Regions from separate parts of the Homo sapiens genome. Here region 2 is linked to region 1. Evidence: promoter capture Hi-C in human tissues and cell types (Jung and others, 2019). All regions are on one chromosome and are shown on one strand. Each heading gives the region's core, a stretch centred on a gene start or on the middle of the fragment in contact. The rest is flanking DNA. Distances are from core to core; before and after follow the strand shown. Region 1 holds the start of IFT52 (intraflagellar transport 52). Region 2 has its middle 6.3 kb from the start of CHD6.

What was found. Contacts are between HindIII fragments. The study calls those that stand out against the background at their distance.
Region 2: a contact is called between a fragment that was not itself captured here and the fragment with the promoter of IFT52 in region 1, in 1 of the 25 tissues and cell types used here (dorsolateral prefrontal cortex).

Annotation. Positions count from the first base shown.
Region 1 is chr20:43,587,123-43,593,068 of GRCh38, reverse strand. IFT52 (intraflagellar transport 52) reads right to left here and starts at 2,132. Exons shown (of 14, transcript NM_016004.5): 1 at 2,015-2,132. RefSeq lists an enhancer at 1,941-2,010. The HindIII fragment of the contact is 21,857 bases long and covers 1-5,946 here.
Region 2 is chr20:41,621,686-41,627,631 of GRCh38, reverse strand. No RefSeq gene overlaps it. Among named protein-coding and RNA genes, the nearest start is that of CHD6, 6.3 kb to the right of the region's middle. The HindIII fragment of the contact is 4,539 bases long and covers 364-4,902 here.

The DNA of each region.
Region 1 (5,946 bases), core at 883-3,382:
GGAGTGCAGTGCTGCAATCACAACTCACTGTAGCCTTGACCTCCCAGGCTCAAGCAATCATCCCACTTCAACCTCATGGGTAGCTGGGACTACAGGCGCGCACCAGTGTCCAGCTAATTTTTAAATTTTTTGTAGAAGCAAGGTCTCGCTATGTTGCCCTTGAACTCCTGACCTCAAGTGATCCTCCTACCTCAACCTCCCAAAGTGCTGGTTTACTGGCATGAGCCACTGCACCCAGTCGGGTTTCATAATTTTCTAATTGATCATTAAACAAACATTTTCATAAGTTTATTTGGCTTCTGGTAGTTTTTTTGGTTTGGTTGAATTTTGCAGGCCATATAGATTTTAAATTTTATAGAGTTAAAAGTATGAATCTTTTCCTTCCTGGCTTCTGGATGACATGAAACACTTAGAAGAGTTTTTTGTCATTCTAAGATTATAAATAAATTCAACAATGCTTTACTTCAGTACTTCATGATGTAATTTTTTTTTTTTTTTGAGAGAGTCTGCTCTGTGGCCTAAGCTGGAGTGCAGTGGCACGATCTCGGCTCACCACAACCTCTGCCTCCCAGATTCAAGAGATTCTCGTGCCTCAGCCTCCCAAGCGGCTGGGACTACAGGCGCCCAAACACACCCGGCTAATTCGTGATGTAATTTTTTAACATTTAAATTTTAGTCCATTTGGAAATTATTGTGGTGCTCAAAATGGGCTTCATTCCTTTTTTTTTTCCTTCTTTTTCAAAGCATAGTCTTGCTCTGTCACCCAGGCTGGAGTGCAGTGGTGCAATCTCGGCTCGCTGCAACCTCCGCCTCCCAAGTTCAAGCAATTCTCCTGCCTCAGCCTCCCCAGTAGCTGGGATTACAGGCGCGCGCCATAGTAGAGACGGTGTTTCACCAGGTTGGCCAGGCTGGTCTGGAACTCCTGACCTCAAGTGATCCACCCGCTTTGGCCTCCCAAAGTGCTGGGATTACAGGTGTGAGCCACCTCGCTCGACTGGTTTAATTATTTTCTAAATTGCTAAAAAAGCTGCCTGACCCCAATTCATCTCTTCAATGCTGATTTGAAATACAGTACCACCTCGCCTATATAATAAATCCCTATATATAAATCGCTCTTATTCTGAGTTCTAATATATTTTATCTACCTGTAAGCTCCTGCTGAGTCCCAAACTTTTTAAATTAATTTATTTATTTTCAGAGACAGGGTTTCCTTTTGATACCCATGCTGGTCTCTGACTCCTGGGCTCAAGGGATCCTGCCGCCTCAGCCTACCAAGTAGCCAGGACTACGGGCCCACACTGCTGCACCCATCTTCTATGCTAGTTTAATTGCTATACCTTTATGTTATAATATCTGGTGGTTCTGGAGAGCTAATCTCCCTTATTAGCATTAATTTTAGAATTTTCCTGGCTACTTTCACATATTTATCCTTCTTTAAGCACTTTAACATCATTTTGTCCAGTTGAAAAACTGCCCCCTCCATGGTCCCACCACCGTGATACATCTATCTTTTTTTGTTCTGTTAGTTCAGCCCCTGGTGAGAGTAGCAGGTCTGCGTTCCTGTACTGTCAGACTTAGCCAGAAATGCATTTCCTTAATAATAGTATAAGGCCTTTAAAACTATAAAAATAACAAATATTTGGGTAACGCTGCCAAACCATTCTCTCGCTTTCTCTTCAATAACATTACCAGTCAAATCAGTATTTTCCCACATGAATACCGAGGGGTCGCAGCCACGACAGAAGAGAGATTAAGACTGTACGATTCCTCGTCCCATGCTCTTTCATAGTCAGCGGAACGACTAAACACCTGCACCACCCGAGGCCGTGGAGATGGGCGCCCAGCCGGGGCGCCAGGAACCCGGGCTACGTCCGCGCCCACAGTTTACTTCACCCCGGGGGACCCTGGATGTTCTATGACCGGCCCAGCGGCCTCGAAGAGTGCGGCGAGTCCCTCGCCAGCTCCCAGGCCGCACCAACGCCCCAGCCGGCCCACCACTGTTGGCGCCCTTTACCTGAGGCCCAGCGACCACCGCTCACCTGACGCCGCCCAGCATCCCGCGGCCAGGTATCCAAGGCCGCTTAGTAACCGGAGAGGCGCGTCGGTGCGCCGGGAGGCGTGGCCCAGGACGCAGCGCTAGCTCCGGCCGACGTGATGACGACAGCACGGAAGGCGCCTCTCCGTCGCAGGCGTCAGGGGTAGGCAGCCTGACTGATGTGGGGCTGTACCATTTGGTGCATGAGGGGCAAATCCAAACATAAGGAGAATTAACTTTTCACCAAAAATAAACCCATTTAATTTTGTTCTTTAGTATCAATTACGAGTAAAGACTAATAACAACGGTAGGACCCAAGTGCCCAAACTTCGCTCCACCCACAGGGAGGAGAATAGTGAAGGCTTCCAGCGCGGGGGGGTTGGAGAACGCCCCAGCTTCGATTCCCAAAGCGCAGGAGCAGAGTGGAGCCAGGCGAGGGCGGGGCCGGGCGGAAGGCTGTGCTGGACTATTAGGAACTACTTAACGGAAAAGGGTGCGCAGGTTTAGTGTTGAGAATGATAAACCGTATAATTCTGTTTTATTAACTCCGCATCTTTGCTTGCCATGGTACTAGGCTTGAGCGCCGGCGAGCATGGCGGGGAGTTAGAACTTGAATAGATTCTACAAAAATGTGAAAACTATGAACTGTATTAGGGAGTCTAACGACTAAGCTGGTCAAAAAGGCGCCCCTGTTGAGCAGAGATTTGAAGAGAGAGTGGTATTCATTAAGGCAAAGGCTGGGGAAGGGCGTTCCCGGCAGAAAGAACTGCTTGTGCAAAAGCACCACCAATACAGGTTGCCCTGCCATCGCCATTAAGATGGGAAACCAGAAGCCTGCAACTACCAACAGGCCACCCGACTACCCAGGAAAGCGCTCTGTGCCTGCCTTTAGAGGTGTGTGGATTTGTGAACAACGCTGCAGCAGCCTGGAAGACCCAAACTGAAGATTGCAGAGAGCTCTGACAGTTTTTATTTACATTTATGTTTGTCTTCGAATCTAGGATATTAAAACACATACAACTCGTGTTGCTTTCCACAATTTCTGTCACTGGAAATTTTAAAAGTGGAGACGGGCCGGGCGCAGCGGCTCTCTCCTGTAATCCCAGCACTTTGGGAGGCCGAGGCAGGTGGATCTCTTTAGCCCAGGAGTTTGAGGCCAGCCTAGGCAACATGGCGAAACCCGGTATCTACTAAAAATAGGAAAAATTACCTGGGCGTGGTGGCGCGCGCCTGTAGTCCCAGCTGCTTGGGAGACTGAGGTGGGAGGATTGATTGATTGATCCTAGGAGGTTGAGGCTGCAGTGAGCCGTCATGGTGCCGCCGCACTCTAGCCTAGGCAACACAGTGAGACCTTGTCTCAAAAAGAAAGTGGAGAACAGGGTGATTTGAGAATTCTCTTTGGTCAGATGAAGTGGCTTCTGCCTGTAATCCCAGCATTTTGGGAGGCCAAGGTGGGAGGACTGCTTGAGGCCAGGAGTCTGGGACCTGGGTAACAGTAACACCTTTTCTCTCCAATAATAATAGTAATAATAAATAAAAAAAGAAAATTAGCCAGGCATGGTGGCACACACCTGTAGTCTTAGCTACTTGGGAGGCTGAGGTGGGAAGATCGCTGGAACCCAGGAGTTCGGGCTGCAGTGAGCCATGATCGCTCCACTGCACCCCAGCCTGGGCAACAGAGTGAGACTCTGTCTCTTAAAAAAAAAAAGTTCTCTTCTTGGGGATGCTGTATTTTGGTGCAGAATTGGGTGAATACAGTTTGCAGTTAGGGTAATAATGGAAATGAAGTATTCTCACTGAAGAGAGAGTAGGCCGTCCCATTTGAAGGCTGGGACAAATCTTGGGATCTTTCTGCCTGATATGCAGTCAGTGTTTGCTACAGCACCTGCCCAGAGCATTTCTCCCACTGTTAGAGATTGCAGAAAGAGTAAGAGTTTTGGCCGGGTGCAGTGGCCCACGCCTGTAATCCCAGCACTTTGGGAGGCCAAGGCAGGTGGATCACTTGAGGTCAAGAGCTCGAGACCAGCCTGACCAACATGGTGAAACCCCGTCTCTATAAAAAATAAAATAAAAATAAAAATACAAAAAATTAGCCGGGTGTGGTGGCGGCCGCCTGTAATCCCAGCTGCTTGGGAGACTGAGGCAGGAGAATCACTCGAACCCAGGAGGCAGAGGTTGCAGTGAGCTGAGATTGCGCCATTGCACTCCAGCCTGGGCAACAAGAGCATAACTCCGTCCCCGCTTCCCCCCCCAAAAAAGCAAGAGTAAGACTTTTAGAATCAGTAGTTGTCACCAAGTTCAATTCCTCGCTGTGACTTGTACCAGCTGGGTGACCTTGGGCAGTTTTCATAATCTCTGAGCAAATGTATCCTATCTGTAAAGCGAAGTTAATAATTTCTTTCTTTCTTTCTTTTTTTGCCGAAACTGAGTCTTGCTCTGTTGCCCAGGCTGGAGTGCAATGGCATGATCTCCGCTCACTGCAACCTTCGCTTCCTGGGTTCAAGCAATTCTCCTGCCTCAGTCTCTCAGGTAGCTGGGATTACAGGCACCCGCCACCATGCCCGGCTAATTTTTGTATTCTTAGTAAAAACGGGGTTTCACCATTTTGGCTAGGCTGGTCTTGAACTCTTGACCTCGTGAATTGCCTGCCTTGGCCTCCCAGAGTGCTGGGATTACAGGCGTGAGCCACTGCGCCCAGTCTGAAGTTCATAATTTCTAAATGCTGGCTTATAGTGAGGATTGTAGATAATGCATATAAAACTTGGAATGTGCTCAATAAACATAGGTTGTAGCATGTTCCATTCAACAGCATAGTTTTTCATTTTTATTTTTTATCCTGATGAAAATAATTGTGCTTTTACAATCTCAGAACAGATAGAACCATTATATGTTTCACCGTCCACAGCTGATTGTGTGCTTCTGACACTACTATTACGTTTCTGATCATTATACTCCTGTTTTTTTGCTTTGGGAAGTTAGGGGGATTTTGACCTCTCCCTCATCTTGTCCCAAATTTGTCAATTATCTGGCACTATTAAGATGGAAATCAGTGTGTATCTTTCAGCGTTCTTAGCACATGTGAAAGCTTAACATGAACTCTTCCTGACCCAGTTTTGATCTCTAATAGCTCAGTGTCATTGGTGTTTTTTCTGTGGTCTCCCAGACTTCTTCCCCGTGATTCCTGGGGCAGGAGGCTGGGTGAACAAGACTTGAGGAAGGGAAAGAGTGGGATTGAATTAAGAGGAAAAGGCAATAAAATCACCAGCACACACTGATCCAAGAAAGTTCCTTCCCTTGTCTCCCAACCAAAAAAGCTAATAAGGCCACCCAGGAGTATGAACCACACATTTGTAAAAAAACAAACCACTTTTCGTATTTATTTATTTATTAATAAGACAGTCACACTCTGTCGCCCAGGCTGGAGTGCAGTGGCACGATCTTGGCTCACTGCAACCTCTGCCTCCCGGGTTCAAGTGATTCTCGTGTCTCAGCCTCCCGAGTAGCTGGGACTACAAGCATGCACCACCACACTCAGCTAAATTTTTGTATTTTTAGTAGGGACAGGGTTTCACCATACCGGCCGGGCTGGTCTACAAACTCCTGACCTCGGCCTCCCAAAGTGCTGGGATTACAGGTGTGAGCCAGCACGCCCAGCCGAAACGAACCACTTTTCCACTGAAGTAAGGAAGCACAATCCATCCCACAAGTGCAGGGTGTTCTGAATTTATGAGGTGTTACCGCTCACGTTCTGTCCGATCAGAATTATCTTTAGAAATGACTAATCTTGGCTGGGTGCGGTGGCTCACGCCTGTAATCCCAGCACTTTGGGAGGCCGAGGTGGGCGGATCATCTGAGGTCGGGAGTTGGAGACCAGCCTCACCAACATGGAGAAACCCTGTCTCTACTAAAAA
Region 2 (5,946 bases), core at 1,384-3,883, 2.0 Mb after region 1:
TGCTGCATTACAAATTATCTCCAAAGCTTGGTGGCTTAAAAACAACAATAAACATTTATTATCTCACATAGTTTTCATAGGTCAGAAATTTGAGAGTGACTTAGGTTTTCATGAGGTTGCAGTCAAAATGTTGGCTGGGGATGGATGCAGTCTCATCTGAAGGCTTGACTAGGCATGGAGGATCTACTTCCAAGATGGCCCATTCACATGGTTCCTGACAAGAGGCCTTGAGTTCTTGCCACAAAGACTTTTTCCATAAGGCTGACTGAATGTCCTCATGTCATGACAATGGACTCTTCCCATTGCAAATTACCCAAAACAGCAAGACAGATGCTGCAATGCCATTTATGACTAGCATTGGAAGTTACACTCTGTCACTTCTGCAATATCCTACTGGTTACATACATAAATCAGGTCTATTCAGTACAGGAGAGGGCAGTATAAGGGTTTGAATCACAGCAAGTGAGTATCACTGGGGGCCAACTGGAAGGACAGTTACCATGCTTCACCTCAGCAAAAACATGGAAACTAATTAATTTTTTAAAACTATAGTTTTTTGTTTCTAGTATGTAAAACTGTGTTGCTTATTTTTATTACCAGTTTTCAGACGGTAGCCTCACCAAATTGGTCAGTAATGTTGATGGTAGAATTGCACACATAAAGAAAAGGATTCTACAGCAACTTGAGGCTTAGTAAAAAGCTTAAGAACTTTTTTGTTGCTGTGGTTTTTTTTGTTTTTTTTTTTTTTTGTTTGTTTGTTTGTTTGTTTTTGGAGACAGAGCGTTGCTCTATTGCCCAGGTTGGAGTGCAATGGTGCTATCTCAGCTCACTGCAACCTCCGCCTCCCAGGTTTAGGTGATTCTCCTGCCTCAGCCTCCCAAGCAGCTGGGGTTACAGGCGCACACCACCATGCCCAGCTAATTTTTGTATTTTTAGTAGAGACAGGGTTTCACCATGTTGGCCAGGCTGGTCTCGAACTCCTGACCTCAAGTGATCCACCCGCCTTGGCCTCCCAAAGTGCTGGGATTACAGGCATGAGCCACAGCGCCCGGCCTTAAGCAAGTTTTTATGGCTGAAACTGTCTAATGGTCATTGCAGGAAAGTACACTGCTGAGCAAGAATGAAGGATTTACGAAGCTGTTTCAGGGTAGCGTGACCAGCGTTTTTGAAAAATCCTGCCCAAGAACATTTGAGGTGTGATTTTCCATAAATCATAGTAACTGAAAGGGACCACAGTCATTTTTATATATAACCTTGGATTTAAAAAATCAAAATAGCGGTAGTGCTATACATGGGTGAGAGTGAGAGCTCTGTGGCACTGTAAGAGTTAAATCAGTGAGATTAATACATGAGGGGTAGAGGCCATATATCAGTAGAAGGCACTCCAAAAGACAGAAGGTTCCCCAAGCCAAACACAAGAACAGAGATTGACTTCAGTTAAATCAATGGAATTAATATGTTTCAAAACCTGCAGGTCGACAAAGGGGGAAAGTCTATACAGAACACGGGGAAATGGGAGGCAGAGGAAAGGCTGCGATAATTATATATTAATAACCAATTTGTTGAGCAGTTGCCATGTGCAAAGCACTTTGCATGAATCATTTAATCCACACAACAACCCTATTATTGGAATCATGAAACTGTAAGTTAAGTGACTTTCTTTTTTTTTCTTTTTTTTGAGATGGAGTCTCACTCTGTCACCCAGGTTGGCATGCAGTGGCACAATCTTGGCTCACTGCAACCTCCATCTCGCAGGTTCAAGCAATTCTCCTGCCTCAGCCTCCTGAGTAGCTGGGATTACAGTGGTGTGTGCCACCAAGCCCAGCTAATTTTTCCATTTTTAGTAGAGACAGGGTTTCACCATGTTGGCCAGGCTGGTCTCAAACTCCTGACCTCGGGTGTTCCACCCACCTCAGCCTCCTAAAGTGCTGTGATTACAGGCATGAGCCACCATGCCTGGCCTGTTAAGTGACTTTCTTAAGGACACTAGTGGTAGAGCTGAGATTTGAACCACATCTGTAGGGCTTCAAAGCCTGTGGGCTTAACTAGTCTTATCCAGCTTTGTGCTGGAGAATGGAGCTTCTGGCAGGAGGATGCCTTGTGGCAGATTCACCCCTACAGTAGAGATACAGGGATTGGACCAGTGTAGTTCCAGAATACTGGCTATTAGCATCATCCCCTCAGTTCCAGGTTCCAGAAATCACCTTCTGATCATGTCTCCTCTTCCCACAGAGAGAGAACAAGGTCAGGGTCTGACAAGACAGGCTGGGCTGCTTGGCAGGTACAATTCTCAAGGGAACTAAAAAGGATATTTTTAAGATGTTTAATCATGAAATATTTCAAACATACAGAAAATAATATAAGAGATGGGCCGGGAGCAGTGACTCATGCCTGTAATCCCAGTGTGTGGGGAGGCCAAGGCAGAAGGATTGCTTGAGTCTAGGAGTTTGAGACCGGCCTGGGCAACACAGCAAGATCCTGTCTCTGAAGAAAAAAAAAAAGAGAGAGAGAGAGATGACTGAAAAGGTACCTTTACTGACAGTGCGTTGTGCTTGCTTCACAGTTTTCAAAAACTCTGAGAGATTAAAACACAGAGACTTTATCTAAGCACAAATAGGCCCAAGACCAGTGTGTCTATAAACTGGCTCAGACATGTTTGCAAGGGCAGCATTATTGGAAATAAGTATATGGCTTCTTAAGATATTACTTTGAAAGACAGAAATCAGAGTGACTACATTCTCACACACTTCAGAACTCAGCTCAAGGGCAGCTTTCCTGACCTCCTTGACAAAGGCAGATCCTTCTAGCATAATCTCTCACAGCATCTTATACCCCTCCTTTATAGCACACACTTACCACTGCTGTGATGTTACGTTTGTTCGCATGACTACTGGACTAATGCCTTTCTCTTCTATAGACTGCAAGCTCCATGAGGGCTGAGTTTGTGTCAAATTTTATTCACTACTGTATCCTTGGCATCTAGCACAATACTTGTCAGTAATAGGCACTCAATAAATGTCTTTTCAGTGAACGAATTCAGTTTTAAACACCAGTCTCCTTAGGCATCTACCCAAGAGAAATGACAACATATGTCCACACAAGGACTTCTACTTGAAGGTTTATAGCAGCATTATTCATAATAGTCCCAATGTGGAAACAATCCGAATGTCCATCATTTAGTAAGTGATAAATAAAAGGTGGCATATGCAGACAATGGAGTGGCATATGCAGACAATGGAATGCCATTCAAGCAATTTTAAAAAGTACAAACTGACAAAACACTCTACAACACAATGAACCACACAATTATTACATTAAATAAGCCAGACACAGAAGACTACATATTGTACTATTCTGTTTATACGAAATTTCTCAAAAAGGCAGAACTCCAAAGAAGAAAGCAGATCAATGGTTTCCCAGGCCTGGGGGTGGGAGTGGAGATTGACAGCAAGAGGGAACAAGGAACTTCTGAGGGTGACAGAAATATTCTAAAACTGGATTGTGGTGATGGTTGCACAACTGTATAAATTTACTAAACATCGTCAAACTGTATACTTGCAGTAAGCAAATTGTATGGTATGTGAATTATACCACAATAAAGCTGCTAAAAATGTTTAAAAAATCAATCTCCTTACTTAGTCATTTTATCCCAATTTAGGTTCTGTGGAACATTATTTCTGTGGGGCATTATGCCAGAAACTGCTAGTTGAGTCTCTCAACTCTTTAGTGACAGACCCAATTTTTAACTTGGCACATAGAAAAGCAAAATAAAAGACCAGATTTCCTAGCCTCCTTTGCAGCTTGGCATGGTCATGTGACCAAGTTCTGGACAATGAGACAAAAGTAAAATGTGTAGTATTTCCAGGAAGGTTGTTTAAGGGACTCAACTCCACTTTTTCCACTTTGCCTTTCCTTTTTCCTTCCAAGGACATGTAGACTGGTGCTCCAGCAGCCATCTTGGACCATGAAGTGACCTTGGGAATGAAAGCTAAGGATAATGGAGCAAAAACATTGAAGCCTGGATTCCTGAAGGTACCGGACAGCTGCCATGCCACCCCTGGACGGCCTGCTTCCCAAATTTCTTTTATTTAAGACAGAAATAAACTTTAATCTTATTATATCATTTTCTCATATTTATGCAGCCAAATTGAGTCCTAAGTGATACCAGTTTTTTTGTTGTTTTTTGTTTTTTGTTTTGTTTGTTTGTTTTTTTGAGATGGAGTCTCACTCTGTCGCCCAGACTGGAGTGCAGTGGTGCAATCTCGGCTCACTGCAAGCTCCCTTTCCCAGGTTCACGCCATTCTCCTGCCTCAACCTCCCAAGTAGCTGGGACTACAGGCGCCCACCACCATGCCCGGCTAATTTTTTGTATTTTTAGTAGAGACAGGGTTTCACCATGTTAGCCAGGATGGTCTCGATCTCCTTACCTCATGATCCACCCACCTCGGCCTCCCAAAGTGCTGGGATTACAGGCATGAGCCACCGCGCCTGGCCGTGATACCAGTTTTAATAGGTGTTCAATGAAAAAAGGGTTCTGTGGTCAAATAATTTTGAGAACTATTACATTAAACTTTAACAGATTTCATTAATGTAGGACCTCTCAGGGTTTTTAATATGTGAACAGAAATCTCCAAGAACCTCCAGGAGGGGCTACAGTATACTCAACTTCCCAAACTAACTTGTCCCCAAAACCTCTTTTTAGTGGAACATCTTATGGGACAAATAACTTGGGAAGAATGAAATGCTGCTTTAAAAATTTTTTGTATTTCTGACTCTCCCTTTCTAATCCATCCTTTTCCAGGTAGCTAGAGAGATATTTGTTAAAGATAAACTTGATGACATCACATTCTTGTTTTAAATCCTTGAATGATTCCTGTAGGATAAATTTCAAACTCCTTCATGTAACATACAAGACTTTTTGTGATCTGACCCTTGCCTTCTCTCTAGCCTCACCCTAACCATATCCATGACCCTTCTGCTGGGCTGAGAACAGACTCTATTTTCCCTAGTTTCTCTACCTCTACACATGCTACACCTCCTTCATGGAACACTTTCCACTTGCCACCTTGCTTGGCATTCTACCTCTGATCTTTAAGACCAGGCTCAAGTATCAGCTCATTCACTCTTGTCCATATTTCAAGAAATGCCTACTATGTGCCACGCATTGCAATTGTGCTTGAGTTACAAGCACAGTCCCTGCCCTGGAGTGACACGGAATCACATGAAGTTAGACAAGTACTGTATCAGACAGGTAACAGACAACCTTCACATTTCAGTGACTTGACACTGTGACATTTTATCTCTTGCTTACAACACAATCCAGTGCAAGTGAGCACAGACGTTCTAGTCCATGCAGTGAGCCACCACTGCCATTTTCTGGGGCCTCTGAGTCCTCCACTCAATATTTTTGCATCTGGCCAGGAATGAGGAAAGGAGAAGTTTGAAAGATCTCACGGGAGTTTTTGGGGGATGTCCAGAAATGGGATATATTTACCACTTCTGTCCAGATTCCATTACCCAGAGCTCAGTCACATGGGCCTACCTGATTACTGAGAAATGTAATTTTTTTATGAGCCTAGGAGGAAAATGAAATGGGCTGGTGAAAAGAGTTGTTTTTCCTGTCACAGATATATTAACAAGAACAATAAAGAAGCTCATGGTCTAATAGAGGAAACAGACAAGTGAACACAGGCATGAAAGCAAGAGAGAACAGATTCGGGTGGGATGCAACTCTTCTTTTGTGGAGTTACTATAAGAAAGTTCCAGAACTGCTGGAAGCCCTTCTGTGGCTCCCTTCAGAGCTCTCAAGGATTGCTTTTCTGGGGCCCTTTGGAAATGGGGCACACTATATGGTACAAAAATTTTTGCATCACTGGCATCACCCTTGTAGCATCAATCATCTTTCATTCCAGCAGCTGCTGTGGCATCAAGCTCTGCGTGGGCACC